Regions from separate parts of the Homo sapiens genome. Here regions 2, 3, 4, 5, 6 and 7 are each linked to region 1. The links are contacts of gene promoters, found by promoter capture Hi-C in blood cells and fetal thymus (Javierre and others, 2016). All regions are on one chromosome and are shown on one strand. Each heading gives the region's core, a stretch centred on a gene start or on the middle of the fragment in contact. The rest is flanking DNA. Distances are from core to core; before and after follow the strand shown.

Evidence for each region. The method cuts DNA at HindIII sites, captures the fragments that hold promoters and counts their contacts. A CHiCAGO score of 5 or more calls a contact.
Region 2: a contact is called between a fragment that was not itself captured here and the fragment with the promoter of THSD7A in region 1, in 1 of 17 cell types (endothelial precursors). The highest score is 7.6, in endothelial precursors.
Region 3: a contact is called between a fragment that was not itself captured here and the fragment with the promoter of THSD7A in region 1, in 3 of 17 cell types (endothelial precursors, M2 macrophages and M1 macrophages). The highest score is 6.7, in endothelial precursors.
Region 4: a fragment that was not itself captured here is called in contact with the fragment with the promoter of THSD7A in region 1 in 6 of 17 cell types (endothelial precursors, megakaryocytes, erythroblasts and 3 more); the score reaches 23.0 in endothelial precursors.
Region 5: a contact is called between a fragment that was not itself captured here and the fragment with the promoter of THSD7A in region 1, in 1 of 17 cell types (endothelial precursors). The highest score is 9.2, in endothelial precursors.
Region 6: a fragment that was not itself captured here is called in contact with the fragment with the promoter of THSD7A in region 1 in 1 of 17 cell types (endothelial precursors); the score reaches 6.9 in endothelial precursors.
Region 7: a fragment that was not itself captured here is called in contact with the fragment with the promoter of THSD7A in region 1 in 1 of 17 cell types (endothelial precursors); the score reaches 5.6 in endothelial precursors.

What each region holds. Positions count from the first base shown.
Region 1 is chr7:11,830,284-11,833,781 of GRCh38, forward strand. It overlaps THSD7A (thrombospondin type 1 domain containing 7A), which reads right to left and starts at 1,915. Exons shown (of 28, transcript NM_015204.3): 1 at 1,474-1,915. The coding sequence starts at 1,663. RefSeq lists enhancers at 1,512-2,052, 2,053-2,592. The HindIII fragment of the contact is 6,451 bases long and covers 1-3,498 here.
Region 2 is chr7:11,377,187-11,380,684 of GRCh38, forward strand. THSD7A (thrombospondin type 1 domain containing 7A) reads right to left here. Exons shown (of 28, transcript NM_015204.3): 25 at 2,444-2,526; 26 at 1,884-2,094. Among named protein-coding and RNA genes, the nearest start is that of PHF14, 410 kb to the left of the region's middle. The HindIII fragment of the contact is 2,355 bases long and covers 463-2,817 here.
Region 3 is chr7:11,403,577-11,407,074 of GRCh38, forward strand. It overlaps THSD7A (thrombospondin type 1 domain containing 7A), which reads right to left. Exons shown (of 28, transcript NM_015204.3): 21 at 3,334-3,479; 22 at 2,724-2,898. Among named protein-coding and RNA genes, the nearest start is that of THSD7A, 430 kb to the right of the region's middle. The HindIII fragment of the contact is 2,861 bases long and covers 355-3,215 here.
Region 4 is chr7:11,429,757-11,433,254 of GRCh38, forward strand. All of the region lies in intron 13 of THSD7A (thrombospondin type 1 domain containing 7A), which reads right to left. Among named protein-coding and RNA genes, the nearest start is that of THSD7A, 400 kb to the right of the region's middle. The HindIII fragment of the contact is 1,168 bases long and covers 1,209-2,376 here.
Region 5 is chr7:11,446,183-11,449,680 of GRCh38, forward strand. It overlaps THSD7A (thrombospondin type 1 domain containing 7A), which reads right to left. Exons shown (of 28, transcript NM_015204.3): 12 at 1,048-1,242; 13 at 1-142. Among named protein-coding and RNA genes, the nearest start is that of THSD7A, 380 kb to the right of the region's middle. The HindIII fragment of the contact is 2,448 bases long and covers 560-3,007 here.
Region 6 is chr7:11,514,245-11,517,742 of GRCh38, forward strand. All of the region lies in intron 6 of THSD7A (thrombospondin type 1 domain containing 7A), which reads right to left. Among named protein-coding and RNA genes, the nearest start is that of THSD7A, 320 kb to the right of the region's middle. The HindIII fragment of the contact is 829 bases long and covers 1,430-2,258 here.
Region 7 is chr7:11,554,483-11,557,980 of GRCh38, forward strand. All of the region lies in intron 4 of THSD7A (thrombospondin type 1 domain containing 7A), which reads right to left. Among named protein-coding and RNA genes, the nearest start is that of THSD7A, 280 kb to the right of the region's middle. RefSeq lists a silencer at 3,297-3,396. The HindIII fragment of the contact is 5,711 bases long and covers 1-3,498 here.

The DNA of each region.
Region 1 (3,498 bases), core at 665-3,164:
TATAAATTTCAACTAGGCAACTACTATTTCATCCTACACTGACTTACCTAAGAAGCTCTCCCCAAGCATCCATATGATACCATTTAATGGTAAATTATAATTTGATTAATGTTTGTCATTATGAATGTGCTTTTAACAAGTAAAACCCTAGCTTACGCTAAATTAGAGATCTTCAAATCTTCGTTTCAAATTGAAGTAAATTAATTTTATTTCATTTGAATTCATTACTCAACTGATCTTCAAACTTAAGGTGTTAGCAAGAATAATCTTGCTTTTTAAAATGTGTATATGTTTCATGTAATCTTCTAAGACAAATTGTGTACTTTGACTTTAAATAAATTTCTGTTTAATCTCCTCACTAAATTTCTGGATAGCTGCAACTTCTTTAAAAATTCCAGATATCGATAGTGATGCAATTGTAGAGTAGACTGAGCTGTCTCTTCAGTAGTGGTGCAGAGATGGGCTGAAGCAGGAAAAGACACTCACTCCCTGAAACCTGTTTGCAACCCCATGACGAATACATACTTTCCCTTTCAACTACAACATTCTCTTAATGTTTGGCATGACCAAGTTATTCTTAAATTACCCCCTAGCTCTAAGCAACAGGAATAATCTTTTCCCATTTTATTCCTATGAACATGTGAAGTTTCAGGTCCCCTAAGGAATTCTCAATGTTTTTTTAATGCAGAGAGAAAGCGAACCCGCAGAAAAGGGGTTGGTAATTCCTCACTCCGTATTGTTTTCCTGCCTGTCACGGCCCCCGCCAGAAACTCCAAGCATTTTGCCAATGGGTAATGATGGGCAGTTAGTAGCTGCTTTTGTTGGGTGGTTGAAAAACAAAGCAAAACAATTCTCAAGGAAGGAAGAGAAAGTTTGAACCCAGACATCCTAAAAGTTGTACACTTTAAAAATCCTCCGACTCGCTAGTTAATAATTGAGTTTTCAGTCTTTCCCTGAAGGCTCACTGGAGCCCCATTTGCCTTTAATTGTTGGAACCGCCCTCACTTGGCTTGTTTCTGAGGTGTCCCACATATCACAAAGCTAAAGTTAACAAATTCAACTCTATATCCACAAATGTCATGACAGTGAGCATATTGCTTTGCCTAAAGAATAAAGACTGAGACTAAACTCTTTGCTTGTTCTTTGCTAGAAATCTGTTTGAGAAACTCCTAGTAGAATGAAAATCCAGGGGTTAAAAATAATGCACTTCATCATGGAAGTGCGCGTTGCCCTCATTACAGAGCTGCGAGAGAAATATTCCAGCTACTCACTGTTGCCTCTTAGTTGTTATGCTTTTCTTTCCTAATTGCATCGGACATGACCTATTTGCTTCCTAAGAAATCATACTTTTTACCTTAGGATACCAGCATAACCAAGCCATCCAAAAGCACCGGGGTCCCTACAGAAGCCCACCAGCTCCTTAATGTGGCCCCAGATGTGAAGATGGGGAAAGGGTAACTCCGTCCCACTTACCAGTCTTCCACAGATAGAGGGTGGGCGCCTCCGCCTCGCCCTGCGCCGCAGCCCTGCCGGCGCCCGGGCGTAGCAGCAGCAGCAGGAGCAGCGGCAGCGGCAGCGGCAGCGGCAGCAGCTGCAGGACGCCCCGGCGCGGCCCCGCAGCGCCCCGGCTCCCGGACGCCCAGCGCCTGGCTTGCAGCCCCATGCCGCCTGCAGCCACTCCAGGGTCCAGAGCCGTAGCACGCTCGGCAGGGAATTTTTCTCCGCTCTTGGAACGTCTTTTCAAAGAGTACAGAAAGCAAAGCTCTTTCCTGCTATTGTTCGCTTCAGATGAGAAGGAGGGAGAGCGCGTCTAACACCAGGGAACAATAGCGTCCGCGGTGGTGGCCGTGGCCGCTGCCGCCGCCGCCGCCGCCTCTGGCGGGGATGCTGCTGCCGCTGCCATTCCTCGCAGAATGGCAGGTCCCGGCGGCTCCGGAGGCAACTGTCCTCAGGGGGCCCCAGCTGACTGAGCAGGTCTGCTAGGTCTGGGAGGCAGCGCAGCCCCCGCCAGCTGGAGGGGGAGGAGGGGGGCGTGAGCCCAAAGGAGCAGAGGGGGCTGGAGGCAGAGGGAGGCGAGAGCGCGAGGGCGAGAAAGGGGGCGAGCAAAGGGGAGAGGGGCCAGCCAGGCGACACCCACCTCCGACATACCCGCCTAAAGAACTCCGGTGCACATGGTGCGATGAAATATGTTTGGAAGGATGCACCAATAAAAAGAATCATCACCCGGCAGATTTCAGAATGACAAATAACAGGCATTGATATTCACTGTCATCCAAGGAGTCAAATGCTAGATCTAGTGGCATGCTATTCTTAGTACGTATTTACACAAAGCATCAGTGTTTATTATCTATTTTTAAGCCATGGCTTCTGAATTACTTTGTGTGGGGAGCAGTATTTGAGATCAGGTGTGAAAACACGAGAGCAGAAATGTTGACTTGTCAAAATGCACTTAAACCCTTCTTTAAATGTTGTTTTTAACTTAATCTATTATCAATAAAAATATGAGCAATATTGATGCTCTGTGACAAATTAAATTGTCTTTTAATAGCCTTTAAAACTGAATTAGTGTTAATGAGTATTTGCAATGCTACCTAATTACATAAATACAATTGTACAAAAAAAAAACCCTTAAAATTAAAATTATATTTCAGGTATAGAGTTCTGTCCCTTCATCTACTTCTTTCCCTCAAAAATATGCTACTTCTAAGTATTCAGATAGTTGTGAGTCAAACTGAGTCAGTAATGCTGTCTGGATATCTTGGAATTAGTAAATTCTTCATTTAAAATTTCCCTGACACCGATTTTTCTTAACTCTTACTGTAGCAAAATGCCTGTCGCAATCTAAATAAGGAACCACATGTGTTTGCATCTTTTGTCCTTTGTGTTTTCACTTTCTTCTACCAGTAGTAATAGAAGAATGTGTGTGAAGTCGGATAATGCTTTCCCCTTTCTCCTTCTCCCTTTAGCTAATAATAATATATTTTATTATTAATTCATTTCACAGTAAAGCTAAAATAGTAGGCATTTAACCATTAAAAATTCAGCAAACGGAAAGCCAAAGAAAACTACTATCCCATCAGCAATTTTCAGCCAAATAAAATAAAATTTTAAAAGCAGGAAAACTACTTTTTATGAATTTACTCCAACATAGCTACCCTAGAGTTTAAGATGAGGAAGCTACTCTTTCTGAAAGAGGAAACCTTCCATAAGGCTCCCTTGGGACCCTTGTCATTTTGCAAAGCCTTCCAGACACAGCCCCTCTGCATGCATTAGATTAAAAGCGGGTTTGATCAAATAATTCCCAGGTCCTGCCTGTTTAAGTATTCTGACATCAGAGGAAATTAGCTACGTTGAAGGTTGCAAATTTGGTCTTTGTTTACTTTCCGCTCTGTTAGGCCTCTAAGAAGGAATTAAAAGCTCAGAGAGCCCGAGCGCTGTGAGTCTGTGATTAGGAGAGATAAGCTAGTGTGGCTTACTATTTCTTCACTCGTGAAAAAC
Region 2 (3,498 bases), core at 390-2,889, 450 kb before region 1:
GTGTTTTAAAATTGGCTGACAATGTCATTTTCAAAAACAACTGGTTTGGTTAACATATAAAAGGATCTATAAATAATTTTTTTTCTACCTTTTCTATTATATGGAATCAGACATAACAGGAACTTTTGTAATTTGGGTTTCTGGTCTCATCTTTGAACTCCTCAGTTCTATGCTCCGAATAAACTTCAAGCACAAGATGTTATTAATGATATTGGCTAATTTAATTTGATCCTCACATCAACATATATTTTCTGTTGCAATTAAATATTTGATCTTAGTGTTAAAATTATAGATTGGGCAAAATTGACCTCACACAGACTCTGGTTTATTCAATATTTGAAAGGCATCAAATGGAAATTGGTACTGTGGAATTTTTTTGCCCGGAGTTAGATCAAGTTAGAGGTTCATTTGCTGGGAATAAACTCAATTAATATTCTAAATATCCTTTCTTTCTAATCCTAAAGCTTTCATTTTTTAAATTTGAGCTCAGTTTAGAATCAAAAGAGCTGTTCCACGATTGAGGATCTCTGTTGAGAGTTTCTTCAACAAATGTTTTTTGGGGTTTTTCAAAATCAAAGAATATCTAAGTTTTCAGAACATGCACCTTTTAAATATTTTAAAATTTTAACTTTGGGGAAACTATATATAAAATTTAAAATAATGACAATAATATTCTTTTTTTTTTCAAAAGGACTGGTTTTGATCTGAGGAGATCTGCTTCAATTCTTAGTGAAGGTCAAAATTGCTACTGGTTGTCTGCTAGTCCATTGTCTTAAACACTGAGGGAAGAGTTTCCCATGCTTACACAGATAAGTCAGCTTTGCAAAATAAATCATACTATCAGCTAAATAAGCCAATTAAAGCAGGAATAATGTGATTAAAAGCAAATCACCCAAACACTTAAAATATCTTAAAAATCCAATATTTATTCTCCAATAAGGGAAAGTATTCAGACTTAATGCATAGAAATGGAGATGTGCTAGCTATGCAGATTCCTTCCATCTTTTCTCATGTTTCTAATGGCATTTTAAAGTAGACTATGCCTGGCTCTGCCTGGAGATTACTTCATAGACTAGTAGTTCTTCCAGGTTGTGAGAAAAAGTGGCATATTAGCTGCTTTATAATCCATGTAGCACATTTTCAAGCACCAGGTTAGTTCTAGGGATGAGCATATGATGAAATCCAACTGAGGAGGGAAAGTGTGCAGAGTAGAGAATAGCATATCATGAGGTATTCAAGCATTTGCCTGTATTGGCTTTGCATTTATTACCAGATACATTAAGAGCTGTCTGTGAATGTGAAAACAAATTTGGATCATCCTATCCAGAAGGGAAGGCTCCATTGTCTCCCTGTTTATCTGGCACTAGTACAGATTCCAAGTATTTGAGTATGCTGACTTTTAGGGCTAATAGAAACTGGTCTAGCTACCACGTGTGCCCTGGCACAGAACTGCATTAGTGATGTTTTTATTTAAGGGTCAAACTATTACTGTTCCTATGATCAAATGAAAAATTCTGGAATGTCTTTATAGTCTCCTTTATCCTAGTTCTGAATGACAACACATTTTTTAAAATTCATGTTTCTAACTTTGTTCAATTTGAAATTAATTATACTTGTAATTTTTGGACTGGAATTGAATTGAATTATATTGATCCAAAATTTTTTCTCAGAAGAATGTAATTTCATTTCTCTGAACTTCAAACATGAGTTATTTTCCATAATGATAGTAAAAAATTGAAGAATAGATGGCACTATCAGAATAAATGCATGTAGATAAAATAATCAATAGCTCATATAAAAATGCTTTGCTCACTTTTTTAATCCTTTGGCATTGCCTAAAAGAACTAAAGGTTTCTCTTTCAACACTAGTCTAGTCAGTTCACCTGGCCCAAATGGCTGTAGAAACCAGGTCCTTCCCCGTCCTGCTGGGTTACTGGAGGGTTGGGTTGGATGTACAGCCCGACTGGTTTTCACATCTCCTCTTTTGTCCTCCATGGTGGGTAATACCACCACGGGGATAAGTGTGCATTGCTCAAGGGTGCTGTTAGAAGACATGACTTCAGTGTACCCTTCTTCACAATGGCATGTTTTTGTCTGCAGGAGAACAAGAAGATTTATACTAGCCATGCAAGGAATCTTTGGAAGTCTAACAGACCTGACTTGAAGAGAAGGCTTTAAACAAGGTTTGTTTTGGGAATTACTATACATAATTCCTCTATTATTTTTAACTACAAAGAAACATACTTTTGGCATTATATGAAAATGTATTCTAAAGGTGAAAGCAAGTGAAGTCAGGACTTTTTAGATTGATAAAAGGAGATGTCTAAAATGGGATTTTTATGCCTCAAGACATGCTTTCTTTGGAGGAAGATAAACTGCATAAGAGACAGTGGGGTGACACATGATGGAGCTGGCTTGTCTGCCCTGATGAATTTTCACATACCTCGCTACAGTACGAGTGGGGTTGACTACACGGTGGGTTACAAGACCTGTCGGCATCAGGCTGGCTCATCACCAAGCAGCCCCCTGCGGAACAGAAAATCATGTTTTGACAAATAATATATTTTGCTATGATGAAAATACACTGTGGTTAGTGACTTGTCTTTGAATCTTGAACCACCTTGGGAATCCCAGGAATTTTTCTGTCAGTGGTTGACTGTGAAATATTTGGTTAACCTTGACCACCTTATGTAGTGACTCCAGGCCCTTTTTACCCAGGGGAGCTAGCTCAGTGCCTGGTACTCAGCAGGTATTCAACAAGCATTTGTTGAAAGAATGATTTTATAGCTGCTATTTTGAAAATACTAATTGCACACAAGCTTTTTCTGTCAGGAGCACATGAATCCAAGTCCAGCAATTGAAAAGCTGATTTCATTTCAAGTTAAAATTCTTTCTTGGAGATTCAAAACAATAGTTTTCACGTACTTTGAAATAACTCTTCAGCTCTTTATGTTAAATAAATGTTTTCTTTAAATAATGCATATTTCTTTTTCAGAAAAGTCACAATTTCTGCTAATTCATGGTGTTTTTTGGATATAGAGAAGAAAACAAATGTATCTACGAAATCATTTGTTTTGCACTATGGTTTTAACTTGATATTACAGCTGTTTATCTCGTTTATTTTCAAGTGTAGTACCAACTGTGCCTAATTTGTCTCAAGTGAGGTTTTAAGATGGAAATAGATGTCATAAAAAACATTGGTGACGTGAAGGAAGCTCCTATTTTCAAACTATACTTGTTCAGTTTAACAGAATTTTAGCAAAACAAAATTTTTTCTTTATTTATGGAACTGATGATTCTCTGGAATTTAATCACAGGCGCCTATTGCTAATTGTCTGTGTTTCTCTCAATATTATAATCACAAAATACTCATAGAAAAATTGTCACAGAAAAGCAGTTAGTCATTGCAAGGCAATCGCAGTTAATTGGCCACACTGAAGTTATTATTAAACACACACACACAAAGCAGTATTTTGAGTTTCTTACAAGGACAATTCA
Region 3 (3,498 bases), core at 535-3,034, 430 kb before region 1:
ATAAAATTTCACCTCAGTGATTGAAAATTACATGGAAAGAAAACATACCTTTTCACCAGTAGGCTTTATCTTTGTGGCAATTCACATTTAGCATCATTTATTTTGCAACAAAATGTAATAAATCTTTTAATGATAGTCTGTGAGTTATGTAATTTTCGCCCCTAAGTAATACATGTCAGGCTTCAAAGATTTAATAACAGCAAATGAGAGTGAGATACTCCCTTGTCCTAAACACACTTTTCTATTTTGACCATGTAAACCATTGTAATAACAATAAAATTACCCGATGCCTGCCAAAGATATGACAATTAAACACATGAGATGTATTTCCTAATTTAGTATTCTACTCTTTAAAGCTTATTAGTTCACATACTGCCAGCTTTCAAAACCCATCATTAGAGAAAACTAGCAAGAGAGGAACTGAAATGAATAGATTGTAATTTAGAAGAGAAGAGCAGCCTCCTAGATTTGCAATTACTTTAATTAAAACAATGTGTTTGCTCTATGTTATCATGGGATCCTGTAATTTTCCTTCACATCATTTACCACAGGTTATAATCTTATATATTATATATTATTGTCACTATTAGATTAGCAATTGTTCTTTCCATTAGAAAGTAAGCTGTACAAGGACAGGGTCTCTTGGTCTGCACTGTATCTCTGGCCTCAAGTCCAGGGCTTGACCTGTAATTACATTTGATAAGTAACAGTCAAATGAGTGAGTGTGTGTGCTGCAGAAAGTATAATGAAATCATGTGAGGAGTGTCCATAGTAAGGCATATACCACAGTCTGACAAGGATGCCCGTTCTGCTCAATGGTGTGAATGTCACAACAATCCTATTACTGGTGCTGGAGATTTGGTTTTGGAAAAGTAGGCCTTACAACTTTTAGCCAAGGGTCACTTTTTGTTGCCTCTATGGCCATTCAGTACATCAAGGTCCAAAGGTTCAGTCCTTGGCCCTGCCTGGAGCTGTCACCTGCTGCCACAGCCTTAGGCTGGGTCTGCAGTGAAGCAAAATGATTTTATTGAATTGTGTGTGAGATCTTAAATGATATCAGACTAGTTTCAGCAGCAGGAAGTGAAAGGGGAATTGCTGGCTCAGCAAAAGGTTGTTGGCAGCAACACTTTGCCTGGCTTTAGAAAGTCAGATTTTCTTTTCTTTTACTTTATTTTTAAATTTTATTTTATTCTATTTTATTTTTTATTGTGATAAGACCATTTAACATGAGATCTACCCACTTAACACATTTTTAGGTATACAATACAGTATTGTTAACTACAGGCACTATGTCTTAGAACGGATCTCTAGAACTTATTCACCTTGCATAGCTGAACCTTTACACTCATTGAGAAGGAGCTGCTATTCAGATTTTTGGTTTTTAAAAATAGTTTAGTTCTTGACCTGAAGTAGATGAAAATATCCATGTGTGCAAAGATCAATACAATAGTTGGATATTTTCAGAGTCTAGGGGGCTTGTCCTCAAAATAACCCCTATCAGGGTTATTTTATTTACTGTTCAATTTCATTCAGTTCATCTTAAACTATACCCTACCATTTTTATCATCTCAAATGATTTTTTTTTTTTTTTACGAAGGAATAAGTAACTCGATGAGTGAATAAATAGCTAGCCCATGTCAGTTTTTCCAGGTTTTAGGGACTCAATCCCATTTACAAATTTTTGTTGATATATGTTATCCACTTTTAAAATTTTCTTAAATCACATCCTTTTATATAGAAAATGTGTTTTATGCCCCATTATTTTTGCCAAATCCTTAATTTTTAATATTTTGAGGTCACATTCAAAAGAAAATATTGTGAAAGAGATGCAATCTTTAAATCATAATTATAAGCAAATTGGGAGAATACAAATTTTCCACTTGGGGATAAAATACAGGTAATTCATTTTCAATCTGTTCATTTCCAGTCCACTAATAAATTGTTGCCCCTATCTATACCTTGTTCAAGGATGGGTTTTCTGGCATATTTTGACATTAAATTTCCTCTACAATTCTCTGCATCAAGCCCAAATTCATAAATATTAGCTTATCACTGTCTGCCATTTTTTCCATACTATTTGATAAACAAAATTTTCTTTCTACTTTTACTGCATGCACTCATTGTGTCTAACACTGAATCTGAATAATATCTTTCAATAGTTTCCTCCATACTGCTATTTTGTCTTCCAGTTGTAGATAATCTGTTATTTTCTTACTGAAGACTTTACTAATTATTTTTCTATATTTTATGTTTTGACTACATTTATCTAGGTATGAGTTTGTTGTTCATTCTACCCTGGACCCAGGGTAAGCTGTTATTATGAGGACTTAATCTGTTTTTAGCCATTATGTATTTAAACATTGGCCTCTCTTTCTCTCTTCTGGAAATCCCGAATAGGTTATGTTTTGTCCTTATTTTCTCATCTTTTATTTCATAACTTTTCTGTGGAGCATGGGCTTAAGGCCTTAAATACCATCTCCTGCAGATGTTAAAACTCCAGAGGGTGTTGAGAGGCCACATGGGAGACCTGGACTTCAACCCTACCTGGCAGTAATGAGACAGCGTCCCGTTCCCCACAGGCATAGTGTTGAGCTGTTGGCATAGATATTACTGAATAAGAAGACTGTTGACATCCTGTAACTTATACTTTATATGCAACCCCTTCACGGCCCTTGTCCTAGGAAAAAATAATCAGAATATGAATTCTCCTTTGCCGTTGTTACCTGGGCAAGGCTGGCTGCAGGATTCCTCCAGAACCATATTTTTATTACCATCTATAATGAGTTCAATGTCAGCACAGAATTCCTCATCCACCACTTTGCTGAAATCATCAGCTGACCCATCACTTACTACACAAGAAATGTTCCTTGTTCTGGTCCCTTCTCCACACTGGGCCTCCTGGAATGGAGGAAGAAATAACTAATTAGAAAAAGAGAAATACTTCATTAGAGAGCTCATCACTTAGTTATCTCTGCACCACTGACTTTGATTTATGAACATTTAGAGAAGGATTTGAAACCCTAGGGAAGAAGCCCTATAGGGCACTAGCAATAAAGCATACATTGAACAATTTGTTTCCTAGCTAAAGACAGGAAAATAAATTTTCATTAAAATGAATCAGTCTCCAAATGATTTTAAAAATATAGGGCATGGAGTTTTTGTTATCAAAACTAATTAAATGGTTATAAAATGGCAAGTACATACAAATTTTAAGAAGCTTGTCATCTGTGAGCTCTGAAACATATTTCTAACACATTATTTTTATGTTTTTCTGCAGATGAAGTCTCTGCAGATAGAGTACACACTTCCTGACAACTTCTTGAGATTTGATACCTGCACTTGGCATGGAGACCACTGGCCATATTGCCACCGATAACAAGGCTTCACTGGGCAGGGTTTGGACTGGTCCATCAGGGAAGGGCATGGTCTTCCATCACCTTGAAAGGGCTGGGTCACTGTTCGTCTTCGGATCATTTTTCCTTGAAGAGATACAAAGTG
Region 4 (3,498 bases), core at 543-3,042, 400 kb before region 1:
CATTCTAACAGGCAGGTAAGAAAACAAATGCAGAGCGATGACTGACTGAGTCCAAGGTTACACAGTAAGAGACAGGGAAAAGTTTTCTGAGGTCTAATCCAGTACTCATTCCATCAAATCATCCAACCAATTCGATTAATAGTGCACAGATTTGTTTTGGGAAATGGGAGTATTTTCTTTCAATACTTCTTAACTACAAACTTGCCATTTCACAATATCAATTAAACACTATTATTCTCAAGGCAAACATGTGAAAACAGCAAAATTCCTCTAGTCAAGAATGAAACGCACGGTTGTCCTCTATAATAGTCTGAATGTGGAGAGAAGGTGTTCTTGGTACAAGAAAACACTCTGCCTTGCCATTTTATCTCAACAGCAGAGATTCGATTTTGACAATGATTATAATGTAAACAATTGATACTAGGCAACTCTAGGTAGATTTTTAAAAATTTATGGAGATATAATTCATATTCCATAAAAATAACCCCATGTTTTGGTTTTCAGTATGTTTGCTGCGTTGTGCAACCATCATCACCATCTAATTTTAGAACATTTGTTTTACTCCAAAAATAAACCCTATGGTTACTGGCAGCCACTTCCTACTTTCCCCTTCCTCATCCCCTGACAACCATGAATCTACTTTCTATCTCTATGAATTTGCCTAATCTAGACATTTCATATAAATGAAGTAAAACATTATGTGATCTTATTTCTTTTTTGTTTTAGAGATGTCTCACTCTGTCACCCAGGCTGGAGTGCAGTGGTGTCATCATAGCTCACTGCAGCCTTGACCTCCTGCACTCAAGAGATCCTCCTACCTCAGCCTCTTAAGTAGCTGAGCTGGGACTAAGGGTGCCCACCACCATGCCAGGCGAATTTTCATATATATATATATTTTATAGAGATGAGGTGTTACGGTGTTGCTCAGGTTGGTCTGGAACTTCTGGCCTCAAGTGATCCTTGGCCTCCCAAAATATTGGGATTACAGGTGTGAACCACCATGCCTGGCTTGGCTTCTTTCACTTAGTATAATGTTTTCAAGGTTCATTTATGTTATAGCATGTATCAGTTCTTCAGTCCTTTCTATGATTGAATAATATTTCATTGTATGGACATTTCACATTGTTTATCCACTCATCAGTTAATGGACATTTGAGTTTTCACTTTTTGTCTATCATGAATAATGCTGCTATGAACATTTGTTTACAAGCTTCTGTGTGGGCATACATTTTCAATTCCCTTGAATATATACATTACAGTGAAATTGCTCAGTTATGTGGTAACTCACTTAGCTTTTTCAGGAAGTGTCAAACTGTTTTCCAAAATGACTGCAGCACTTTATACTCCACCAGATATGCACGCATGTTCCAATTTCTATGAATTCTTGTCAAACTTGTTATTGTCTCTAAAATTTTGGTGTTGTTTGAAGAACAAAAGTTTTAAATGTCAATGAAGTCCAGTTTATCTTTTTTCCTTGGTTGTTAGTGCTTTGGTATTATATCTAGGAATCCACTACCAAAGTCAAGGTCATCTAGGTTTATAGTTGTTTTCTCAAGAGAATTTAATAGTTTTAGCTCTTATATTTAGGTGTATGTTTCATTTTGAGTGAATTTTTGTTTATGATAAAAGGTAGGGGTCCAACTTCATTCTTTTGCATGTGGTTATTGAGTTATCCTGTCTTCAGTTGTTGAAAAAACCTGTTCTTTCCTAATTGTTGTGGCACCCTTGTTGAAAATCAGTTGACCACAGTGTAACGATTTATTTTTGAACTGTAAATTCTATTCCATTTATCTCCATGTCTAGTTTCATGATAGTACCACATAGTCTTGACTACTGTAACTTTGAAGCAAGTATTGAAATCCAGAAGTGTGAGTCTTCCTATTTCGTTTTTCCTTTTAAAGATAGGTTTGGCTATTTTGAGTCAAACTTCTATATGCATTTTAGAATTAGACTGTCAATTTCTGCAAAAAATTGCAGCTAGGATTTTGATAGGAATTGTGTCAAATTTGTTGATCAACTTGGAAGCACTGCCGTCTTAATTCAGACACATGGAATTCATTTCCATTTATATAGATCTTTAATTTCTTTCAATGATGTTTTGTAGTTTTCAGTGTACAGGTCTTGAACTTATTTTGTTATATTTATTCCTAAGTATTTTATTCTTTTTATTGTAGGTGGATTTTAAAAAGAACCTACCAACATTAATTTCTTTAATTAAAGGAAAGTCAGACCACCTTTAAACCAAAATGGCAAATTTAATCTATAAGATTGTGCCCAAACTGTCCTGTATTGAAAGTGTTAAAATACTAATTTACTATACAGTATTTCCTAGCCTTGCCTAATCATAAATTATCTGAGACACATGTTAAAAACATAAGCTTCTACCACCCTCAAGTTATTGACATTAATACAATCCATAGCACTTACTCAGGTTTCACAAGCTTTACTTTTAATCATTTGTGTGTGTGATTGTGTAGGTCTTAAGTTAGGAAGTGCTACTATAAGATACAGACAGAACCAAAAAAAATGGAAGATAAATAGATTTCTGGCATATCTTTTTATGTAGTATCTCCTATACATTTGTCAAAGATATTTGTTTTAAACTTCGTATTGTAGTCTTCATATGCAAAAGTGCATTTTCCATAGACGTAAATTTCACTGAACACACCCCTGAAATCAATAGTCCAGAACTCTCCTCCGTATTCCCTTGCAGCCACTGCCCCTTCTTACAAGAGCAACAACTATCCTGACTACTCACTGTGTAGAATAGTTTTACTTTTTAAAAATTTCATGTAAATCGAATCATATAGTTTATATCCATTTGTGCTAGCCTTTTCACTCTACATTGTGATATGCGTTTTATCTACGTTGGTGCATATTGCTGAATATTGTTTATTCTGGTTGATGTGTAGCATTCTATTGTGTGAATATACTATGACTTGTTTATTCATTCTATTGGTGGTGGGCATTTAGGTAGTTTTCAATATGGGGCCATTATTAACAGTGCTGCTATGAATATTCTAGAATGTGTCTTTTGATGGACATATGTATGTATTTCTGTTTGGTGTACTCCTAGGAGACAAATGGATAAATTGGATGGTATGTATATTATATTATCCATTGTAAATGAAGTATAAAATAAATTTTAAAAAATGGGATCACAAATTTGGCATGAAGATTAGGATACAATGAAAAGTTCTGAAAGTGGGCATTAGTCCCAGATAATCTTCTGGAGGGCAGATGTGGCAGAGTTGGGATTTTGTTTGTTGTGAGACATAGAAGACAGAAAGAAGATGCCACTGCTAAGTTTCTAATGTACTTCTCATATATTCAAGATGACTTTTGGAGTATCGATAATGATCCAGAGGAAAGTCCAACAAAGAACTAAAGGAATATTTCACAGTAGTGTTACTGAAATTTTAAAATAGATTGCAGTGATCTACTTAAATCTTACATTTTGACTTTAATTATGCTTTGGGGTGGAGAAATAAGCCCCTT
Region 5 (3,498 bases), core at 534-3,033, 380 kb before region 1:
ACTTCCACTTTTCCCTCTGGTAAAATACAGTCTGACCAGTTCCCCACAGGTTGTGCATTATATTTGTCACAAGGACAATACTGAGTCTCAATCAGGGGATACAAATGGGAATTTTTACATTTTTCCTTCTTTTTACTTTTTCCTGTGGAAGAGAAACAATCAGGCAATTTAAGTTGGAAAATACCATCATTAATTTCACACATCCCTAAATTTTCTGCTTTCCTAATTTCTTTTTCTTCATTTTTAACCATATTTAACAGTAGCCTATAAATCAATGCTATTTTCTCATTCCACAGTGTTTTCTACATAGGCTCCTGTTGGTATTGGGTGCTTTGCATAGTAAAATTTGTATTATTTTTTCAGAACACTATTTTTCACATACTTTTTAATTATACTACAGATAAGTATATATTTATCTCTCACCTTCATAGGCTGTGTTATATAGTTTCGACAGTCTTCATTACATAGGTGGTTCATTTTTTAACTTAAATTCTGAGTACTCTACTAGCACCAATATTTTTAGGTTGCTTTTGCCATTGGCAATATTTCAAATGCACCAAGCTTTAGTTCAGAGTGATGGATCCTAATCCTGCTCATTATATTCATGCTGTTAGTCATTACTATGGTTTAAAATACAATTTTCAGATACAGAATTAATGCTATATTCCCCCTTCTAGGTGAGAAAGGATAATCTGAGGCTCTGACAGTGAGAATGGGTTAACAAAGTAGCAACTTTTTCTCTTGTTCCCCAAAAACTTTGCTCCAAGCACTTTACAGTCTGCAGGCAGTCCACTAAAAGATTATGTCTACACCAGAAAATAATCCACTGCATATTATATAGGGAGTCAGAGTTCAATTTTCAAGCCTTCCTTTTCTTTTTACTAAAAGTACATAATGCTTTTATCACTGCCAGCTAAATTTAAAATATACATCTAAATCCATTGGCATATTATTTTTCAAATACACTGTCAGAATTCTCTCAGTCTGACTTGTATTATGTTCCTCTACTTTGACGTGTACTGGCTTTGGCATCCCAATTATTCTTACCAACAAGAGTGCGCTTTCTGGTCCTAACTGCACCACAGTCTCCATTGCATGAAGAAAACTTGGACCAGCTGGTCAATTGACAGTCATCCTGGCAGGGGATCTGGCAGGCCTGGGTAAGGGCTGGCACAGGGCCTGCATACTGTAGGCACTCATGGATTCCAGCCTGTCCTCCATCTTGCTTGCGACAAGTAATGGCTAAAAGAAAAGCATAAAGCTGTTATAACAAATTCAAACGTCTAATTACTCTATAATTTAGAAGCTAACCTAACATTTGGTTAAGCAGTCAGAGAAAGCCTCTTGTAGTTCCTTACTTACAGTAGAAATCTTATAGGAGTGTTTCTAATAATCCCAGTAGCCATTAAATTGGTTATTTTTAAAAATAACACACAACCCTGAGTGATTTTTGTGGCACAGAAAAGTGGACACATATGCATACTTAGCATTTACCAGTTTTAATTATATGTATTCAGGGTTTCAATTCATGTCACATGTAGGGTATATTTAGAAATAAATTTGTAAGAATGTAAGACAAACCATACGTGGGTTCTGATAATAGCTTATGTTGAGCATAGGGTGTTTGGAGAGGGACTGGAAGATACTAGGTATATCTAATATTGTTTTATATCATTGGACACCCTAGAATTCCTTTATAGAAGTGTTTTAGTGGCAGAAAGCTGGTTGGTAGGTTGGAGTTTGGGGTCAGGAAGGTGTGCTTATAGAACTTATCTTGAAACTGCATTGGCATGGGAAGTATGTTCACTGTATTACATTTCAAGTTTATTAGGAAGGGTTGGAATCATTAATGGATAAGCAATGTCAAAGTCCTCCATCTCCTCTTTCTACAAGTTCTTCACATGCACAAACATCAACCTGGCACTTAAAAATTTTCAATAATCTTCATTTATTATGTTAAAATTTGTAGTTCTAAAATTACATATAAATTTAAAAAATCAAAGTTTAAATTCATAAAAATTATTTCGCCTATGATATTGTTCTGCTGACTTAAAATGAGAAATAATATTTTTACCTATTGAACATATACATATGAGTGTTTTATGGTAACAAGTCTTAAAGAAAAAGAGCAAGCATGTTTAAAGCCCACTTTCTCCCTATGCCATTTCCTTTCCATTGGTTTTAAAAACAACTCACTTATTGAGGAAGCAGATGAAACATTAAACCTTGGTCCTAAAGTTGGCTTCACTGAATTATCTTAAATGGCCTCATTCAGATTGATTTACTTGGCTTTTTCAGGTTTATGGTCTAGGCTGAAACTGCCGCTGATCTCTGCCCTGTTCAGGATTCCATCACCATGAAATCGAGGTGAAGGAGCCTGACGTTTTTGACCTTAAATTACAGTGAGGGCATAGAGGGCCTCAGGTTAGACAACACCGTCTGGATCTGTGTACTAAAACCTATTGCCTAGGAGTGCAGGGCTTTGTAATAGAGTGTGTAAATGGACATAACTAGCAATTTTAGCAAGGCAAGATTTTCTCTGTGTAGTTGAACACAACTTAATGCAACTGCTTCAGGCCTAACATAAAAGGCCCTTCTAAATTGTTCAATTGTGGATGCACTTCCCTATTTCTTAGCTTTAGATGTGCTTTTCATTTAGTACACATGACTTGACTTTGGAAGGGCCAGTTTGTAAGAAAAGAACAGGGGCCCCTAAATTTTTAAAAATATGAAAATCCTGGTAGGGTGAACAGTGTTGGCCTTGATGAAGGTTAGATGACAGAAACAAATAAAAAACATTAAGTGTCTCAAAGAGAATCTACCCCCTTGAGGGAGGACACATCTGGTACTCTGTTTAATCATAGCAGTCTAAGATGGTGGTTCTCATGTCTGGCTGCAGATTATAATCCCCTGGATAACCTTTGGAAAATACCTATGCCCTTACTAAACTCTAATGCTCTGATTTCCCTGGTTGAGGTTGGGGTCCTGGGATTTAGGATACTTTTTAAGCTTTCTGATGATTTAATTATCCAAGCTATATGAGAACTACTGCTCTAGTAGGTAATATATTTTCACCTGCATCAGAAACACCTAGAATGCTATTAAACATGAAGATCCCTGGACCCAAAAAGAGTTCCATAATCTGGACCAATCCAGATAATGAGATACCTGCTATGGGGTCAGGAATATGCATTTTTTTCAAGATGCTCAGGTGATCCTTACGCAGATTCAAGTTTGAGACCCACCAGCTTGAGTATTCAAGGTACAGGAAGGGTTCTGGCAAACACATATGGCTAAGACAGAAAATCCTTTGGTACCTAATCAGCCTGGTACCATGCCAAGCTTTGGGAAACAATGGCTGAACATTGTATGAACTGAAAGAGCTCTAAGCTTGGAGTTCAAAGGAAGGGCATGATAGAAATTTGTACAGGGAATAGATAAAAAAGAACATCCATATAGTTTAGAAGAACATCATCTGTAACACAGTGTAGGAGAAAT
Region 6 (3,498 bases), core at 594-3,093, 320 kb before region 1:
TACTTGTTTACTCATTTATTGCCTATTTCTCTTCTACAATGTAAGGTCCATGAAGACAGATACATTATTTAAATCCTGTTATACCCTCTACATCTAAAACAGTGCCTGGCACAGAGTAGCCAGTCAGTTAATATTTGTTGAATAAATGAGTATTTTGTATATAAAGTTCCAAAACAAGTAAACATGATATGTTTAGACACACGTATATATGTGTCAAAGCCATCATGATAAACACAAAATTCATTTAGAGATTCACTCTGGAGAGGGCTTGAGGAGAAAAGAGAAGGAGGAGATCATGAGGGGTCTAGGAGTTTCAATTTTATGAGTAAATTTCTATATATTTTCTATTTATTTAATTGGATAACATTTTAAATAAGTGTTTTTTGTCTTTAAGATTTATGATATATAATATTGCATGCAATCTTTAACATGCATCAAATATTTCACAAAATTTTTCAACAGGTTAGCAGTATAATTATTCAGTAATATTAAACAATACTACGTGTGCTTACTTTATTAGTTGCTTAATTAAAAATAAATGACTGTACTTGCTTTCTCCTTTCAAGATTATTACTCTATTCTTTGGAAGAACATAGAAACATTTTACTATGACTGCACGAAAGCTCCAAAACTAAGAACCACTAATATTTGTAGGGGTGCTCCACCTTCAGTGACAGTGCCTTCTGTTACTCCATTTCTAACCTAAGAAGATGGATCTTTCTGTTCAGAAGATCACTTGTTGTTTCAAATTTATACTCATTTGAATCCGTCTTCTTTTGCTTTGAGTGGCATAAGTGATAAATGATTTTATGCAAATATTAACTTTAGAAATAAATTTTACATGTAACTAATGGGAAATCACATCTGAGCCCATCCTATCAAAAACAATTAAAATACATGCTTTCATCTAAAAATGGAAACATTTCACTATGATTTTAGTTCCTGTTCAAACAATAAAATTTATTCATTAGACTCTGTATCAACCTTTATTAGCCTCTCAGAATATTAATGTTACTTGCTAGGTCTGTGATACTTTAACTGAATATTCACAGCTTCAACAAGTTTGCTATGGAACAACTGTAAGAGATGATGATGGTGAATTTATCCCACTTTTCTACTTGTTATTTAACTCTGGCTTTTGACAATGTTCAACTTGACTTCAGACAGCAAACCTACCTTTTGGCTGAAAGAAGACTCTGTAAATGCACAAGGCAGATAATTTAATAATCCATAGTGCCATAAATAAGCACAATATCAACAATTAATTATGATCTATTTATATAATATAAAAATTTAACTCATCATCTACTGATTATGAAAATAACTCATTGCATCTAGCTAGATTTATTACCAAACACACAGCTATTGTCATAGAAAATTAAAGCTACAGAGATCTTTTATATATATATTTTTAGAGATAAATAAACCAAGCTTGTGATGGGGAGAAAAGACAGCCCATGTTTTATAGTAAGTGGCAGAACAAGACCTAGACTTCACATTTCATATTTTAGTAGTCTTTTTAGTACATCTATGGCAATGATTTACATACATAATATCTTGGTTGTATCTTACTATCCAGGGATATAAGCTCACAAGTTACTGAGAAGAAACAAGGAGTACTGCTTTGGCTAAGTGAGTTGTGACTTCATAACTGTGACTGCCCAAACTCAGTTAAAAGCCTGTCAAAATATTTCAAGTAGCACTATCAATCATGATTTAAAGTATACTGTGAATGAATAAATAGTGAATGAAACATGTTTAAACTATATAAATATGAGAACTTTTGGTTGTGATCATTTTTAAAAGTGATTTTTCCGTTTTCCTTTCTAAATTTGAGATTTCTAGGAGCTATTATTTGTGTGCATCTTTATTTTAAGTTGTATTCTGGCTGTAATAAATAAAACCTGTAATAAAGTATAATACTTATGTAGTTAATTTACTGAACTTACTGCAAATAGGTTCAAACCCAAAAGCTAAATTGCCCTCATAAAATACATACATAAATACTTAAAATGCACTTACAAAATCAGAAATTTTAAACTAATGCATTGACCCATTTTTGAAACAAGGCAGAATACAAGATAAGTATGGTTATTGATTAAGCTAATGTCCGTGTACCCGAGGAATGATTTGGTGAGAACTCATTCACGATTCTAGATGACCTACTACTGATCAGCTAGCTCTGCCAGAAGAAAAATTACTGAAGTGTACTTCATGGCTATATTATAGTGCCTCATCCCCATCTTCCTATAAAAGGAAGCTTCCAAAAGCCCATTGACCTTGCCTGTGTGCAGAGATGACCTTGTTTGTACAGCAGTCAATGCCAACATCCATCTTCAGTGTGAAATTCTGTCAATAACATTTTGGCTTTAAATTCTTATCTGTAAAGCTTTCTCTTTAAGAAAAAATTTGCTATTTGCTAACAATATAAATCTCCATAAAACTATCCTTTACAGAAAAGCTGAATTTAAATTGCATTTTAAAGGATTAAATATAAAATGTTATTTGAAAATAAGGATATATTTAATAATTTCATAGGAGGCACCAGGTGTATTAAATAATGAGCTTGAATTCAGGGATATGGCACCAATTGTCATGTAATGCCATTAGTATTTTTGGTAAGAAAAGGACATATACATCACTATATTGCCATCGCCTACCAGAATTGCAGTCATGGTCATGTAGACAGAGCCTTTACATGATGCAATGAAATAAAAGAGAAAATAATAGTATTTTTCCTATCAAAATAATTGTATATGTAATACGCATTGCCATCTGTCACATTCATAGGTCCAATTGTTTAAGCAAGAGAACATATAAATACTTCCATATCATTATTTTATTTTATTTTAGAGATCAAGTCTCTCACCTTTGCCTGGGCTAGAGTTCAGTGGCACAATCTTGGCTCACTGCATCCTCCACCTCCCGGGTTCATGCCATTCTCCTGCCTCAGCCTCCAGAGTAGTTGGGATTACAGGTGCCCACCACCATGCCCAGCTAAATTTTTGTATTTTTAGTAGAGACGGGGTTTCACTATGTTGGCCAGGCTGGTCTTGAACTCCTGACCTCGTGATCCGCCCACCTCGGCCTCCCAAAGTGCTGGGATTACAGGCGTGAGCCACCATGCCCGGCCCCCATATCATTATTTTTAAAAAATCACAAAACTACATTTTTAAAGAGTTAAAAAAAAAAGGTTTGCCCTCCTGAAACAGGGAATATCATTAAAAATAGATACACTAAGTATAACAAAGTAAGGCTATGAAGTAAAAAATAAGCACAAGAGAATCAGATAAAAGAAGAAAAGCCCAGCATATCATAATATTTTGACATCAGCTTTTGATTGCCATTTTACCTCAAGTCTTTTTTAGTTTCTTCTCTTGATCTGAGCAGTTGGTAGACAACTACACCATTTTTAACACAACTTAATAGAAGTCTTTATAGAAAGCATATTTTAAAGCTGCATGCAATGAGATACATAGAAGATAATTTTATAGTAGG
Region 7 (3,498 bases), core at 358-2,857, 280 kb before region 1:
TATTCCTATTTTTTTCTGAGAGTTTATTATGAATGGATGCTAAATTTTGTTAAATAGCTTTTGCTGTATTGATTATGTTTTTAGTCTGTTAAATTGGTGAATTACATTGACTAACTTTTTAATATTGGAGTAGGCTTGCATCCTTGAATAAACTGCATTTGGTCTTATATTTTAATTATTTTTATATATTGCTGAATTCTACTTGCTAATATCTGTTAGGGATTTTTGTCTATGTATGAGGCATTTTGGTCTGTATTTTTCTTTTTGGTGAACTGTCAGTGCCTTTGTTGCCTCTTTTTTTCTGTGTAGAAATGCTCTATTTCATATTAGATGAGTTGTGGTAGGTTGCAATTTATTTTGATTTTTTTATTCTTCCCATGTAGTCTAAGTTGTCAAATTTATGTGTATCAGGTTGTCTGAGGTATTCCATGGCTATCCTTTTGATGTCTGTAAAGTGTGTAGTGACATTTCCCTATTTCATTCCTGGTGTTGGTGATTTGTGTTTTTTCTTTTTTCTTTTATCACCCTTGCTAGAGGTTTAATGATCTATTGAATGAACCAGCTGTTTGTTTTATTGGTTTTTCTCTATTTTTTATTTTCAATTTCATTGATTTCTGTTCTTATGTTTATTATTTACTTCTTTCCTTCTTGCTTTCAACTCATTTCACTCCCATTTTTCTTGGTTCTCTAGATGGGAGCTTTGATTATTGATTTGTGTCTTATCCTCTTTTCCAATGTAAGCATTTGGTGTTACAAATGTCTATCTCAGCACTGCTTTAGCTATGCCTCACAGATTTTGATATATTTTCTTTTCATCCAGTATTTTGATTTTCCTTGAGAATTCCTCTTTCACACATTGATTGTTTAGAAGTGTGTTGTTTTCCAAGTGTTTGGAGATTTTACTCCTATCTTTTTTGATTGAATTCTAATTTGATTCCATTGTGCTCAGAGAACACTCTATAAATTATTTTACATTTGTTGAACTATGTTTTATGGATGATGACATGGTCTATTTTGGTATATGTTTCACTTGAAAGAAGGTGAATTCTGCTGTTGTTGGATGGAGTAATTATAATAATCCCTTTTAGATTTTATTGGTTGATGGTACTGAGTTCTTCCGTATTTTTGCTGATTTTCGTCCTAATTATTCTATGAAGTGTTGGGAGTAAGGTATTGTCATTTCCAACTACAATTATCTATTTGTCAATTACAGTTTTGTCTATTTCTCCTTTCAGTTCTATCAGTTTTTGTTCATATATTTTGCAGTCTGTTGTTTGGCACAAACACATAGAATTCCTTTGCCTTCTTGGTGGATTGACTCTTTTGTCATTATATAATTATATAATATCTTTCTCTGTCTCTGGTAATTTTCTTTGCTTTGATGCCTAATTTATTCGATGTTATCATAGCCACTCCTGCTTCCATTGAATAACATTTTCATGACACACAGTTTCTCATTATTTTACTTTAAACCTGCATATAACATTATATTTGAAGTGAGTTTCTTGTAGAATGTGAATAGTTGGGTCCTGCTTCTTAAATCTGCTCTACCAATCTGTGTTTTAATTAGTATACTTAGACTATTTACATTTAATGTAGTTATTTATATGTTATGGACTAAGTCTTCTATTTATTTTTATTTATTCATTTCTGTTTCATTTTCCCTGTCTTCCTGTGAGTTAACACATTTTAGAATACCATTTTGATTTATCTACAGTGTTTTTGAGTGCATGTCCTTCTATAGCTCTTTTAGTGTTTGCTGTAGATATTACATTACATATATATGTCATATATATGGGTGTGTATGTGTATATGTGTATATATGTACATATATATACAAGATATACTATATATATATATCTTATCACAGCCTACTGATATTTTCATTTTGCTAGTTCAACTAAAGTATAGAAATCTTACCCTCCCTCATTTGTAATAAATTGTTTTAAATATATCGTCTACGTATTTTTAGAATCATATCAGGTAGCAGTGTTATAATTTTTGTTTCAACTGTCAAATATAATTTAGAAAACTCAAGTGAAGAAAAGCCTATTGTATTTAGCTATACTTTGTTTACCCGCTCTTTCTCCTTTCCTGATATTCCAAGGTTTCTTCCTTTAATCTTTCGTTTTTATTTAGTGAACTTTCTTTAGCTATTCTTTTAGGGTAAGTCTACTGGTAACAACTTCTCTTAGTTTTCCTTCATTAAGAATGTCATTATTTTTCCTTCATTCTTGAAAGATATTTTCTCTGAGTATTGAATTGCAAGTTGACAGTTCTTTTCCTCTAGCACTTGAAAAATATGGTAGTACTTTATTCTGACCTATATGGTTTCTGGTTCACTGTCACTCAAATTTCTTTTTCTTGTAGTAAGGTTATCAATTTTCTCTGGATGCTTTCAAATACTTTTATCTTTCGTTTTCAGATTTTTATTATAATATGTCTTGGCATGTATTTCTTCAGGTTTAACTTATTTGGAATTCATCCAGCTTCTTGAATCTGTAGGTTTATGCTTCTTACAACATATGAGAAGTGTTCAGCCATTATTTCTCTGAATACATTTTTTTTCTTTTAAGCTCTGCCCTCTTTCTCCTCTTCTTCTGGAATTCCAATGACATGAATGTTAGATCTTTTGTTACAGTCCCACAGGTCTCTGAAATACTTTTAGTTTTCTTCCCTCATATTTTTTTCTGTGTTGTTCGGATTAGGTAATTTTGATTATTCTGTATTTTAGTTCTTTGATTCTTTCCTCTCTCCCCTCCATTATGCTGTTAGACCCGTATACAGAGTTTTTATATCTGTTATTGCATTTTTCAGATCTGCAGTTTCTACTTGGTTCTTTTTTACATCTTCAATTAATTTGCTGAAGATTTCTATTTGTTTCAAACATGCTCATAACTGTTGAAAGATTTTCATCATGGCTTCCTTATATCTTGTTGGATAATTCTAACATCTTCATCATCTCAGTGTTGGCTGCTATTTATTTATTTTTTTCGTTGAATCTGGTAACTCCCTGGTTCTTGGCATAAGGAGTGACTTTGATTGAAACCCAGACATTTTTGCCTCATGTCACAAGACTCTAGATCTTTTAAAATCCTTTTCTTCTTTCTAACTGGCTTTTTATGACCCTGCTCCAGAATGGCAAAAGGGTGTATGTATGCCACATTGTTACTGCAAGGTGAAGGCAGAAGTCCAGGTTTCTTATTTAACCTCCATTGATAACAAAGAGGAACTTCTAGTTACTTTTATGTGGCTGTGTGTACTGGTTGCCTAATTGTCTTCACTAACATTGTGGGGGTGGGGAGTGCTTTACCAGATAGCAACTAGCAGTGATGGAAGTGTCAGTTCCCTACTTGGCCTTCTCTAACACCACCTAGTGGGAGTGTTGAGCGACTCATTACAGTATCACAAGGGTGAAAACTGAGGTTCCCATCACGACTTTGCTGATATGGGTGAGGGTATGGCCATGTTATTTTTGTGTGTTTTTGGCTGGGTAGA